Regions from separate parts of the Homo sapiens genome. Here region 1 is linked to region 2. Evidence: promoter capture Hi-C in human tissues and cell types (Jung and others, 2019). All regions are on one chromosome and are shown on one strand. Each heading gives the region's core, a stretch centred on a gene start or on the middle of the fragment in contact. The rest is flanking DNA. Distances are from core to core; before and after follow the strand shown.

What was found. The method cuts DNA at HindIII sites, captures the fragments that hold promoters and counts their contacts. A contact is called where the count stands out against the background at its distance.
Region 1: a fragment that was not itself captured here is called in contact with the fragment with the promoter of KRR1 in region 2 in 2 of the 25 tissues and cell types used here (heart left ventricle and mesendoderm cells).

What each region holds. Positions count from the first base shown.
Region 1 is chr12:75,880,793-75,887,138 of GRCh38, reverse strand. No RefSeq gene overlaps it. Among named protein-coding and RNA genes, the nearest start is that of PHLDA1-AS1, 150 kb to the left of the region's middle. The HindIII fragment of the contact is 7,794 bases long and covers 1-5,147 here.
Region 2 is chr12:75,508,990-75,515,684 of GRCh38, reverse strand. It overlaps KRR1 (KRR1 small subunit processome component), which reads left to right and starts at 4,076. Exons shown (of 10, transcript NM_007043.7): 1 at 4,076-4,172. The coding sequence starts at 4,088. RefSeq lists enhancers at 4,109-4,268, 3,775-4,318, 4,319-4,863. The HindIII fragment of the contact is 10,159 bases long and covers 1-6,695 here.

The DNA.
Region 1 (6,346 bases), core at 1-2,500, 370 kb before region 2:
CACCACATTTCCCTGCATTGGAGTGAAAAAGTAATTCCTAACATATTGGGAGAACAAGGACATTTTCTACTCAAACAATAAATTAGGTTTCCATATTATATTACTTAAAGATGGATAATTCAAAGGCTGAAGAAAATGACAAAGGTGTAGGAAAACAAATTATGGAGAAAAATCAAGAAGAATCAAAATTGTTTAGCTCAATGAGAGCTGAGAGGTGAAAGAGGAAGACTTGGAAAGGTCTGAGGATGGTAGTGTTATACTATGGGTTATTGGATATAGTGAACAGAGAGGGTGTTCATTTTCACTGATGTCAAAAAACTTCTTTCAAGAAATTATAAAAGGAATAAGCACTCATATAAATGAGGGTTTTGGTTGACGAAGAGCTTGAAGGGCTTATCTTCAGGATGTCCTCGGAGAGAGACAATAATGCTGAATTTTGAGAGTCTTACCTTCAAACACATTACAGATAAGAGGTTTGAGTGTAAAATCAAGAATAGGAAATCATTGGCTATTAGGCAAGAAAAGATGCTGTGATCTTCTGGTCTAACTTTCTTCTTTTATAGGGACCCACAGGGGTTTGGATTCCAACCCAAGGTCACTCAGCTAGTATGCAGAATTGCTGCGGCAAGTCTCATTTTTGTTCTTTTACTAACTTGTTAAATGGGCTTAGGCAAGTTATTTAAACGCATAATATTAAATATAGATAGGGTAATGCATGAACTGCAGGAAGGTGTAATGAGAATGTAATGATTTAAAATATTGATTCCTATGTAATTGAAAATCTACATGAGTCCCATGTGGCTCAAAAATCTTAGCATTTTAAAGAGGTAATTAAACTGAAAATGTGAACATGTGGCACTTTATTTAATGTCCTTTTTGTAGAATCAGAACCTGAGGGGGAAAATCTGTGATTAAATGCTCTGCAGGCCCCCAGAGCACCCCATCCATGTAATTGTGCTTTTATTGCAGTAAAGCATAAACTTTTTTTTTTTTTGCAGTAAAGAATGCTTTTATTGCTTTCTTATCCAGTAAGAAAGCAAAAACCATAGGGCTATTTATTGTAAAAGGGCCTCCTATTGTTTCCTACCCCTTCTTCTTCATACGTAGCTTGATTTTGCCTTTGTGAGAAAGTTTTATAATAAGAAAAATTTTGGGCTGGGCGCAGTGGCTCACGCCTCTAATCCCAGCACTTTGGGAGGCGAAGGTGGGTGGATCATAAGGTCAGGAGTTTGAGACCAGCCTGACCAGCATGGTGAAACCCCATCTCTACTAAAAATACAAAAATTAGTCAGGTGTGGTGGCGGGCACCTGTAATCCCAGCTACTTGGGAGGCTGAGGCAGGAGAATCGCTTGAACCCGGGAGGCAGAGGTTGCAGTGAGCTGAGATTGCACCACTGGACTCTATCCTGGGCAACAAGATCAAGACTCCAACTCAGAAAAATAAAAACTATTTTGTTATTTCATGCAGAAGGGCCAGTATTTAAACTATAGAAAGGAAACTTTTTTGCCATAGAATTTTCTCTATTTTAGTAATTCGTTCTTGTTTTCTTTCTCTTCTTCCTCAAATCTTATTGTTGTTGAACAACAGAATTATGTTCTGTAACTTGCTGTATCTTAAAAATAGGGAAAGCTACATTATTGGTACATAAATGGAAAATATACAATAATATCTTTATCCAATTAAGTTTTTGAACCATAATTTTAAAAAGTAAGCTTATTAACTTAGATGTAAGAGAAATTTTTGAAAGGCACATACTGAAATTGATTTGCTGAGCTTTGATAATGGTTCAAACTTTTTTTTTTTTTTTACCTTAGACATAATGGAATAAATCAAACTAAATCTTTAAAAATAGTACCCCAATTTTAGCAGAGCACAGTCTTTTTAGCACATCAATTCATATATAATTTGTTTTTATATTTCTCTTGGCATTTGGGAGAGTTTCTTTTCATTTTTACTCTTTTTTAAAAGTGGTTGGATTCTGAAGATTGTATCCCTTTTGGTTTCCTTCAATCACTTTGTCACATCTCCTTAGCAACTTATAATTACCTACTGAGGAAGATAGTGCTTCAGTTTCCTAGTGAGAAAGTTGAGTATCTGAAAATTTGAGCTTAGTGTTAATCAACGCTATTGCTTTTTGAATTTAAGGGGTAAGTATAAGGTTAAGTGAAAAAGTTTACTTTTTCCATCCTTTCTTCTTGTGTGTATAATGTGTTTTCAAAGGTAGTCCTAAGGCAGGAGATTTGAGCTGACTAGGGATCTTATTATCATGAAGAACTGACAGGTGGCCTAGGAGAGCGCAGGAAGAGGAAGGTGACTGAAACCTGAGCACCAGAACGGTGAAGGTAAGACTCAAACAACGAGCTCCCTCAGCTTCTTGGGGATTATCCTTTAAGGCAAAGAATTCAACCTGAGGTTAGAGATTAGAGGAACCCAGACCGCATTCTAGGATGCTAGTTTATTGTCTTTGAGAGTAACTCTTCAAGTTGTGGCAATCTGAGACATTCTTCCAGTTTTTTCTGCATGAGAAAGATAAGAATAAAGAGGGCAAGGACATTATTTTGTAAGCCAAATAAGGATTTTAATTCTGATGGGGAGAGGAGCCTCTTTCACCTTAGGAATGTTCATTAGTTCATTTTTATTCATTCATACACACATAATGCTATGTGGCAGGCATTATTTGAGATGCTAGAAAACTTAGCAGAACAAAACTTCAGCCCTTGTGAAACTTGTATTCTAATAAGGGAGGCAGAAAATAAGCATATATCATACAGCAAGAAGGGTTACAGACAAAAATAAAGTGGGTCCAGGACTGGAAGAGTGGTAGTGAGCAGGGGGCAGGAATTATTGTAGAGCTCAGGGAAGACCCCTAGGATAAGAGGACCTGAAAGAAGGGTGGGAATGAGTCACAGACACCTGGGGAAGAGGATCTCAACATGTGAGAAGAGGTCCATGCCTAGTGTGTGCAAGGAGGAACATGGAAGCCAGTTTTGCTGAATCCTAATGACTGGGGGTGGTGGTGGTGTGGAAGATGATAAAAGAAAGATGGGTTGTAGGGCAGTCAATGAAGGATCTTGTAGATTCTTATAGGAAATTCTGCTGATTCTTATAGGAAATTCTGCTTTGACTAAGTGAGACGGAAAGCCCTGATCATAAGAGTGAAATACTGATGTTTAAAAGGGCCATCTGATGACTGAGTGGGAGAATAACTCTAGCAGGGCTAAGGTAGAAGCAGGGGCCCCCATTGGGAGACAATTACAATAATCCAGGCAAGAGGAGATGGCAGCTTGGATCAGGGTGGTTAACAGTGGAGATGTGAGAAGTGGTGGGAATCTGACCCCTCTGATGGTGGATTCAAAAAGATATGCTGACAGATTGGAGGTCTAGTGTGAGAGAAAGAGAGAAGGCAAGGATGATCGTAACTTTAAAGTGTGGAACTGTCCATCACTGAGATGGGGAAATCATTGGAGGAGCAGGTTTGGTTCAGTTTTAGGAAACAAGTCTGACATGATAATCAGATACCTAAGTGGAGACGTTGACCAAGCAGGTAGATGAGTCTGGGCATCAGGGGAAGTTTAATTTGGGAGTTTTCAGTATGTAGGTGATATTTAAAGGTAAGGCAACAGTGGTGAGAGGAACGATAGGGTATTTGGTAATAACAAGGAAGTAGCAGCTTGGCACAAGATCAAAAATAGCCATGGATTAAGACTTTTGGCAGCAGATGGAGGAGAGCAAAGTCAATAGCAGCTAATGAAAAATGTTTATGACTATCAAGGAGACTGGGGGACCTTGCAAAGGGAAGGCAAGCAGGCCAATTTCAGGGGAGTAGGGGATCAGTGACACAACTTAACGGAGGCTCAGATCCTGCTGCAAGCATGATTTTTACCCAAAACACATGACTGTTTTGCTAGGTAGGTGTGGCCTAGTAAGGTAACAGGTACACCTTCACAATATTGAATTACAAAGGTACTTGGATTTTGAATAATTAGCTTTAAGTCTTCTATTTCTGATTGTAAGTTCTTTAAGAGAAGATTCAATGTTAAAATTCATTTTTATATTTTGCATGGAGCTTAGAACAGAAGGCTTTGTATTTCATAGGTGTTCAACAGATATTTCTTGAATGAATTGATGAAAACAATACTAAAAGCTTCAGATATCTCCCAAAGGTGCCTCAACAGGAGTAGTTCCCATGAGGATTAGCCATGCTGGGGTCTCTTGGACAAAAGGCTGGTACTGATTGAAAAATTCCCTGAGTATGTCTAGAAGTGTCAGGCTCCTCTGGAATCAGTTACAGTGGGATTGGCTGCTTAGGTATAATCTTTATAAGATTAAAAATTATAGATTATTTGGCAGCTTGTTTGAAAGTGTTGGTCCCAAGAAAAAGTTCTGCTGTGTGTTATGGCAGAATTATTAAAAAAAATACATTCTTAAGTTGAGGTTTCTAAGTAGGCTTTTGTAAAAACAGGCAATTACTTGCTGGAGGCAGTTAATTGCATGCACAGATGGGTACTTGTGTTACAAATTCCTCATTTGCACTTGTGATTACCCATTTGCAATAATTCATGAAACCTAGGGAATTCTTAGGTACAAGGAAAGGTTTTAGGCATTTAAAAAACGTATCACTACCATCAGAGGAGATGGAGAAAACAAAGAGCTAAGTATAAAGCCTTATTCCAAATGCTAAGTTCAGAGAATATTTTCTGAAGCTCGCGGTTGTTGAGGGTAAGAGGTTTACTAAGCTATTGTTTCCATGGACTCTCTCAGCTTTAAAAAAAAGAAAGAGAAAGAAAGAAAACAGTATTTCATCATTTCTCATTTCATTTTATTTTTCATATAACTTTCTGCTAATGGTGGTCTCTGTCAAAATGTTTCTAGTTTGATCATAAGTCTGGTTAGCAGAGTTTTTTTTCTGAAAAAATGCACTCAAAATTCTTTGACATTACATAAAATCATACATCTGAGTGAAAAGTGGATAAAAATCCCCAGTCTTCCAAGGTTGTGGTAAAATGTCAAGGAGTCTTGTTTTTAGAAGCTGTTATCATGACAGCCCAGTGCTGTGATAAATGAACAGTGAATATAAACAAAAAAATGAAAGAAATTCCCCTTCCCATCAAAATATGAGCACTGACTTGAAGAAATATTTCTTCTTAAAATATTTACTTTTTATAGAAGTAATTTTTAATAATTGAAGAGCCTGAAATAAATGCTTTGTGAGGAAAACTGTCCTATACCAAGATGGTTATGTGCTATGTCAGCCTTTAGTACTGAAAAGGGAATGAACCTGTCAAACTTTCTATCCTATGGAAGCTACAAACAACTTTTACTCTAATTCCCTCAGTGTATTGCTCATGATTTGTTATTTTATTTTGGCAGTTGGATCGAATGTCCAAAACATTTTGGGGAAAGAAGGCAGGGAATAACCTATCTCACGGAAGCAATTTAGTTGGGGGGACAATAGTTTGAAAGCCTACAGACCCTGAATTTCCTTTTGGCTTTAGAGAACTGCTTAGGGATGTGGGATAGAGGAGCTAGGGTCTTCAGCCTGAGAGATCTAGCATAATCCTTGATTTGGGGAATTCCCAGTGAAGATCAGGTCAGTTCTTGGAGTCTGTTATGGTCGTCTATTCTTGTGTACATTACCCCTGCACCAAGAAGATCCAAACTTACGAAGCATTGTATCAGTCAAGATAAACTAAGCAGTGCTGCAGTAACAAACTATCCCCAGATCTCAGCAGCCTAAAGCAACATAGGCTTAATTCTCTTGTGCTATCTGTTCATGATGTGTCCATACCTGGGAGCTAGACTCACTCTGGGACCCAGACAGATAGAGCATTATCCATCGTTAATACTGAGCAGTTGGTCATGCCTTTAATCCCAGTGTTTGGGAGGCTGAGATGGGAGGATTGCATGAGCTCAGGAATTAGACACTAGCCTGGGCAACACAGCAAGATTTCATCTCTACAAAAAATAAAAAAAATTAGCCAGACTTGGTGGCACATGCCTGTGATCCCAACTACTCGAGAGGCTGAGGCAGGAGGATCACTTGAGCCCAGGAGGTTGAGGCTGCAGTGAGCTCTGATTGCATCACTGCACTCCAGCTTGGGTAACAGAGCAAGACCCTGTCTCAAACAAACAAACAAACAAACAAAAGCTTACTTCTGGTCACTGTGCTGGAGGAAGGAGAGAGCTCTTAAAAGTCTTGAATTATCAAGTAAATAAGAAGGAGTTTATTTCCCTTTGGCTCACAAGTCACTGGCTGTAACTAGTCATGTGGTTCCACACAACCATAAGGGGGCCAGAAAAGGCAATCCTGTCCTGTGCCTGGAAATAGGGAGAACCAGAAATATT
Region 2 (6,695 bases), core at 2,827-5,326:
TAAACTACTTTTATAGAAGGTAGTAATCAACACTATTGTAGAAACATTCTAATTGAATGGTCCTTTATTTCTATTCAATAGTTTATCTGGTGTGGAATTACTGCAGAACCATATGTGTGTATTTTATATTGCTAAATTGCTCTGCAAAAAGGCAGTAACAGTTTACATTTGCACTAGCCATGTATGAGACTATTCTTTCCTCTAGCAGTATTTTTTTTAAATGTATGTTTTTTATTTCTTTTCTTTTTTTTCAATCTGGTGGGTGAGAAGTGATATTTCATTGTTAAGTCTGTATACTTTGTTGACAGTAGTGAGGTTGAACATCATATGTTCGTCAGTCATTTGGATTAGCTCTACTATAAATTGTTGTATTAGGGCTCTCCAGAGAAACAAAACCAATGTGTGTGTGTGTGTGTGTGTGTGTGTGTGTGTGTGTGTAATTTATTTTTATTTATTTTAAAAAATTGGTTCACATGATTATGGAGGCTGGCGAGTCCAAAATCTGCACGGTAGGCTGGCAGGCTGGAGACAAAGACAAGACAATGCTGCAATTCAAGTACAAGGGACTTCTGCTGCACAATTCTTCTTTCTCAGGGGAGGTCAATGTTTTTGTTCTATTCAGGTCTTCAACTGATTGGATGAGGACCACCCACAGTATATAGAGGACAATCTACCTTACTCAAAGTTCACTGATTTAAATGTTAATCTCATCTAAAAGTACTCTCACAGAAACATCCATAATAATGTAGGCCCAAATATCGGGACAATATTACCCAGTCAAGTTAACACTTAAAATTAACCATCACAAATATCTACTAATATATTTTCCGTTTTTCTTTTCTTTTTTTGAGATGGAGTCTTGCTCTGTCACCCAGGCTGGAGTGCAGTGGCATGATCTCGGCTCACTGCAACATCTGCTTCTTGGATTCAAGCGATTCTCCTGCCTCAGCCTCCCTAGTAGCTGGGACTACAGGTGCGTGCCACCATGCCCCGCTAATTTTTTGAATTTTTAATAGAGACGGGGTTTCACCGTGTTAGCCAGAATGGCCTCAATCTCCTGAACTCGTGATCCGCCCGCCTCGGCCTCCCAAAGTGCTGGGATTACAGGCGTAAGCCACTGCCCTCGGGCTTTCCTCATTTTTTGATTGAATTGCTTACATCTTTTTATCGCCTTGAATATTATTGTAATCAACCCATTAAATGTTTTGCGAATATTTTGCCCTCTTTTATATCCTTTATTTTTTTACCCTATTTCTCATCATTTTAAATTTTAAATTATTATTTTGAATACTTTATAATCAGTGAATCATTGAAATTGAGATGAAAATTTGGACACTGTCATTTTGATAATCACTTTTGAGTTTATAGTCTTCTAAGGTGATTTTAGGAGATTTTTCAATATTTATTTTCAATATGTATTCAATAAATATTTATAATTTTTAGTCATTATTCAATATTTATTTAAAATCAAATTGTTCTTTCAATTCTAATGAATTTTTGGAAGATGTTGAAATTAGATCTGCTCTTTTCCAAAGTAAGGAATCTAGAGCAAATAGTTCCCACATGTGGAAACTATTGTTAAGAGGTTTTAAAAGTTTAAACTACTCATATGTAATATTGGTTACAATGTTTAATTCTTAGAAGAACTAGTCGAATTAATTTCGGAATTTGTTTATTCCATACCACGTTTATTTTAAAATTTTTCTTCAAAATTGCTTAAAACATAGTCTAAGCAAATTGTTGAAACGTTGTTCTCATTCAATTTGACTGTCAATTTTAATTTTTAGTAAGTATATATATATGTGCTATTCCTGCTTGTCAAGCCAAAATATGAAAATTCAGTTAATGAGTAACAATATTTAAGCATCAGAGTCTGTTTTAAAACTGAAAAAAAAATGTATGTGTACTAAGGAAAAGCTTCAGCCTCTCAGTCTCATGCAATTTTCTATTCATTTAATTTTTATACATTACTTCTTATAACTACTAGCATCAAATTAGTATCTTGCTATATTTTATCTCATATTATCACAGAGGAAAAAGTACTGTATAATTATATATACCCTTCAGTATATGATTAATAGTCATTATAATTAATATTTTTAAATTAATTTGTGATTTTTGTTGCAGGATTCATTTTTTAGTAAAAGCTTTTATATCCTATATGTAAGATAACTCCCTATTCCTGTGATATAACTTGTGTTAGATTATGGGTTCTGGAAGGCAAGTAACAGACTTAAAAAAATTCACTTAACTTCCAATCATATATTGTTTTTATATTGTATATTCAGTTGGTGGACAACATGAGGGCTTTTGAGTTAGGGAAGGGAAAGAATCACTTAATACTGAAATAACTTATTGTAGGAGCCTGATGAATCTTTTCCTTTGGAAAGCAGACAGTTTTAGTGTGGTGTCATCTATAATAGGAGGTCTTGAGGACGTTAGAGAATCTTAGAACTCAATTATTATCCATGTTTTTACACCCCTTTCAGTAATGATTTGGAAAAAGATGTAAAAATTTCAAAAAGGGACAGGTGAACTGTGGGCTCTGCATAGTATGGTAATTAAAAGGTTGGGTTTTACAAACAGACTCAATAGTGCCAAGAAAAGGATGGGTGGGTTTTCGTTTTCCCATCTCCATCATATTCTCAATATTCCTCAAATAATAGCAATACTAAGATTAAAAATATACACGTAAATGGGAAGAAAAGCCTATGTAGAAAATTTTGCTATAAAATAAAGGGCTTTAACACAAATATTATTTCTAGACTATTCCCTCCCCTTAATCCCTATCAGCCCTCTAACACATTTGAAGCTCCTAATGAATAGTAGCCCCCTGAAGCTGCTAGGTCAAACTGCCTGAACTTGAAGACGGGCCTTCCACTTATTAGTGATTGAGTTACTTAAAATAAGAATGATAAAAACCTGCTTCATGAGGTGTACTCCTCACTTTATAACTTTCACCTGCTGCTATCTGTTCTATTTTAGGAATTTATCATTTTTTGAGGAAATTAAAAGAACAGAGATAAAATCCCTGTCATTTATAAAACTCACAGGATAAAAACAAAAAACCCCTCTGTCGTGGGTTCTTCTGTCCATATGTAACAATCTGTTTCATACCTGGATCTCATATATGAAAACCTAAATTATTGTATAAGATACACGAGAGTGGATTTATCAGACAAACGTGTATTTCACTAATGCAAGGAATTTAACCTATCAAAGACTTTCCCTATTTGCTGCAGAAAATTTTAGAAATGCAAGCAATAAAATCAAAATTTAAAAAAATCTTATATTTGGCATGTCGAAGAACTCTTATACTTCCAAAAGTGTAGTTATTTGTAGTTAGTGATGAACCTCTCTACACATCTTAGCCCTATGTAATGTTGGGGGTAGAAAAGGAGTTTAGAGATTTTGAGAAATCTTAGGCTAGTTGAAATACTTCAGAAACGTCAGGATGTTGAATTACCATCCCTCTGACTTAGAGAAATACCAACACTCGGGAAGATTACCATCAGAAACAACTTTGAAAAGTTTAATTTTGTCACTGTTTTTAAAATTAGAAATAATGTAAATAAAGTACTGAAACAAAGTAGTCTCACAATAAATAGTAGCTATTCCTGTCACTTGTTGCAGTGGAGGCCCAATATACATTGTATTCTCATATTTGTACTTCCTCCCAACATCTAGCGCATATTTGGCCAACATATAAATATTTATCGAAAGAATGAATGACATCAATGACAGGTTGGTAGCACTCCGCTGTCCGATGGTCCAGGTTAGGCCGTGAGGCCACGAGGAAACTACGGATAAAACAGTATCCAATTTGCCTATACCGCCTGCTAAACTACAAGTCCCAGTACGCAAACTCCATGGTTTCAGGGCATACTGGGAGAAAGTCTCCGGCTCTTCATTGGCCACGTAGGAGAAGCTGTGGTTTGTGTAAAAGCGCGGGCTTAACGCACGTACGCACGGAGACTGCGCAGATCTCCTCGTCTGAGTTCCGCGGAACTCATTTTGAGTGTAGGCGTTTTAGCCGGTAGGGTTTAAGAACAGTTTCATTTCCGGAGCCACCGGAAGCAGCTTGCAAATGGCGTCTCCCTCGCTGGAGCGGCCAGAAAAAGGCGCTGGAAAAAGTGAATTTCGTAACCAGAAGCCGAAGCCGGAGAACCAAGGTGATGTTATGTGGGAACCGAAGCCTGGGGTTTGTGTACGTTGAGTTGCGATGTTTTTTTCTTTCGTTCCTCGTGGACTTATAAAACCACCTGGAGCCTGTACTGTGTAGTTGAGTACCTGAATAATCGCTGATAAGATTTTGGCTGGGCCCACAGGAACGGCTGGCCGATATGGTGCCACCCAGGTGTTCCTAATTCATTGCTTTTGCTAAAGGGTCCCCAAAGCGAAGCTGTTGCGGATTACGTCTTTTGTAAAAGGATGAGTATTAAGAAAATGCCTAGGGCGACGCAGAACCTTGTAAGCCTGCGGGTGGCTGAAAGTCACTGACGGAATGAGGAATAGGGTGAGGTGGGAATAGGTAGTCATGATATACAAGAGTGGACCCTGATAATGGGGTGAGGTATGGGGAAAGGAGCTATCCGACATGTCCTTAGCTCTAGTTTGTCAGTAAAGACATTTTGAAAGATTATCAATTCCTGTTTGTCAGATGCTAAAATATTAGACGACACAGCCCTTACTGTTTAGGTTGTGTTACCTTTTAATTGTTAACTCCTGCGTTGTAGTCTGGTTTTACCCGTTTTCTTCAGTGTGAATGATAGAGAAGTCATAAATAGCCTGGGGATCTGTTCAACCAGGCTTATAGGAAGTGTTAAAAACATTGAACTCTCAATTTAGATGCATTGGGAAAGTATTCAAAGTTTCTTTGTTGTTGCTCATTAAATGATTATGTAACGTACATAGCAGGGGATACAACTTATATAGAGTTTAATAAAACCATGCGGGAAACTAGCATTCAGACTAAGTAAAATAGAGCATTACCATACCCCTCAAACCCTTACGTGCACCTCTCAGATCATATTCTCTTTTCCTGTATCAGACGTAACCACCCTGAATTGTGTTGCATTCTGTTCCTCTTCTTGTAGTCATGAAGTGGCTTAATTTAGCCTGTTTTTTAATTTTATATACATGAAAGTGGACCGTATGCATTTTTCTGTGTCTTCTTAGATTTAGCTTTTTGTTTTTCAAACAGGGTGATACTTGCGGGTGTAGTTTTAGTCTTTTCACTGTTATGTGGTGTTTCCTTGTATGAATATACCCCAATTTATTTTTTCATTTTACTATCGGTGGACATTTGGATTGTTCCCAATTGCTTGCAATTATAAACAATACTGCTAAAACATCTTTGTACATGTCTTCTGGTTAACATGTTCAAGGGTTTCTCTAGGTTGTGAACATAGGATTGGAATCACTGAAGTGTAGGGTGTGTGTAAGTAATGCTAACTTTTTTCCAAAGTGCTAGTGTCAGTTTTGTTCCCACTAGGAGTGGACGAAAGTTGTCATTGCCTTACATTAGTATGAATACATGTTATCTGAATTTTGAATTTCTGTCATTTTGGTAGTTATGAAATGGTATTTGGTTGCAGTTTTAGTTTGCATTTTCTGATCACCTATGAGGTTGCATATCTTTTCACATGTTTTGAGGCTTCCTTAATTGTGAAACTCCTGAGTATTTCTTTTGTCAGTTTTTTTCCTGAGGTTGTAGTGGGGATTTTAAAAAAAATTATCCATAGCCTTTGAAGTGTTTAAATTGGATAGGGACTTCGTCAGGTAAACATTGTAAGTAACTAGTTGCAGTGACTCACACCTGTAATCCCAGCACTTTGGCAAGCTGAGGAGGGGGGATTGCTTGAGCCCAGGAGACCAGTCTGGTCAACATGGCAAAACCCTTTCGCTACAAAAAAAAAAAAAAAATTAGCCGGACATGATGGCACATGCCTGTAGTACCAGCTACTTGTGAGGCTGAGGCAAGAGAATAGATCGCTTGAGTCCAGGAGGTCCAGGCTGCAGTGAGCTGGGATGGAGCCATTGCACTCCAGCCTGGGTGACAGAGCGAGGCCCTGTCTTTAAAAAAAAAAAAAAAAAAAGAAATGTGTATAGTATATAAGTAATCACTTTTGTGGAATTCGTGTTCTTTAAAGGACATTGGAGAATCCTTTATATGAAGACTAGCCAATTGTCTGTGATTTGAACCAGAAATAGCAACGTGGATGTGAGTATAAGCAGAAAGTTTACCTGTCTGAGGCTGCTAACATAGGGTAATGACGTGTTTTTCAAACTTTACCGTGCTTAAGAGTCTCCTGTTGAGCATGGTAAAACACAGATTCTTGTCCCTCGTCGAAGAGATTCTCATTCAGTAGGTCTGTAGTGGGGCCCAATAATTGCATTTCTGACAGACTTACAGTTTGTGCTGATACTGCAAGTCTATGGATCATACCTTTGAGTATAACTGAATTAGAGTATAGCTATTGAAATTAAGGAGTTCTTCAAATTCAAGATCAAGAGTTTTTTAAATAAATGATTCAGAAGATAATTTACGGCCCTTAGGAGGCATTTTCTTGTAGTGAAAGGAGTCCCAGGCTGAGTGAGCTTTGTGTTCCCTTAGGCAAGTCACTTAACCTTTTTAGACCATCTTCTATAAAATGAGAATAATAATACAGATTCTACCTTTTATAGTTACGATG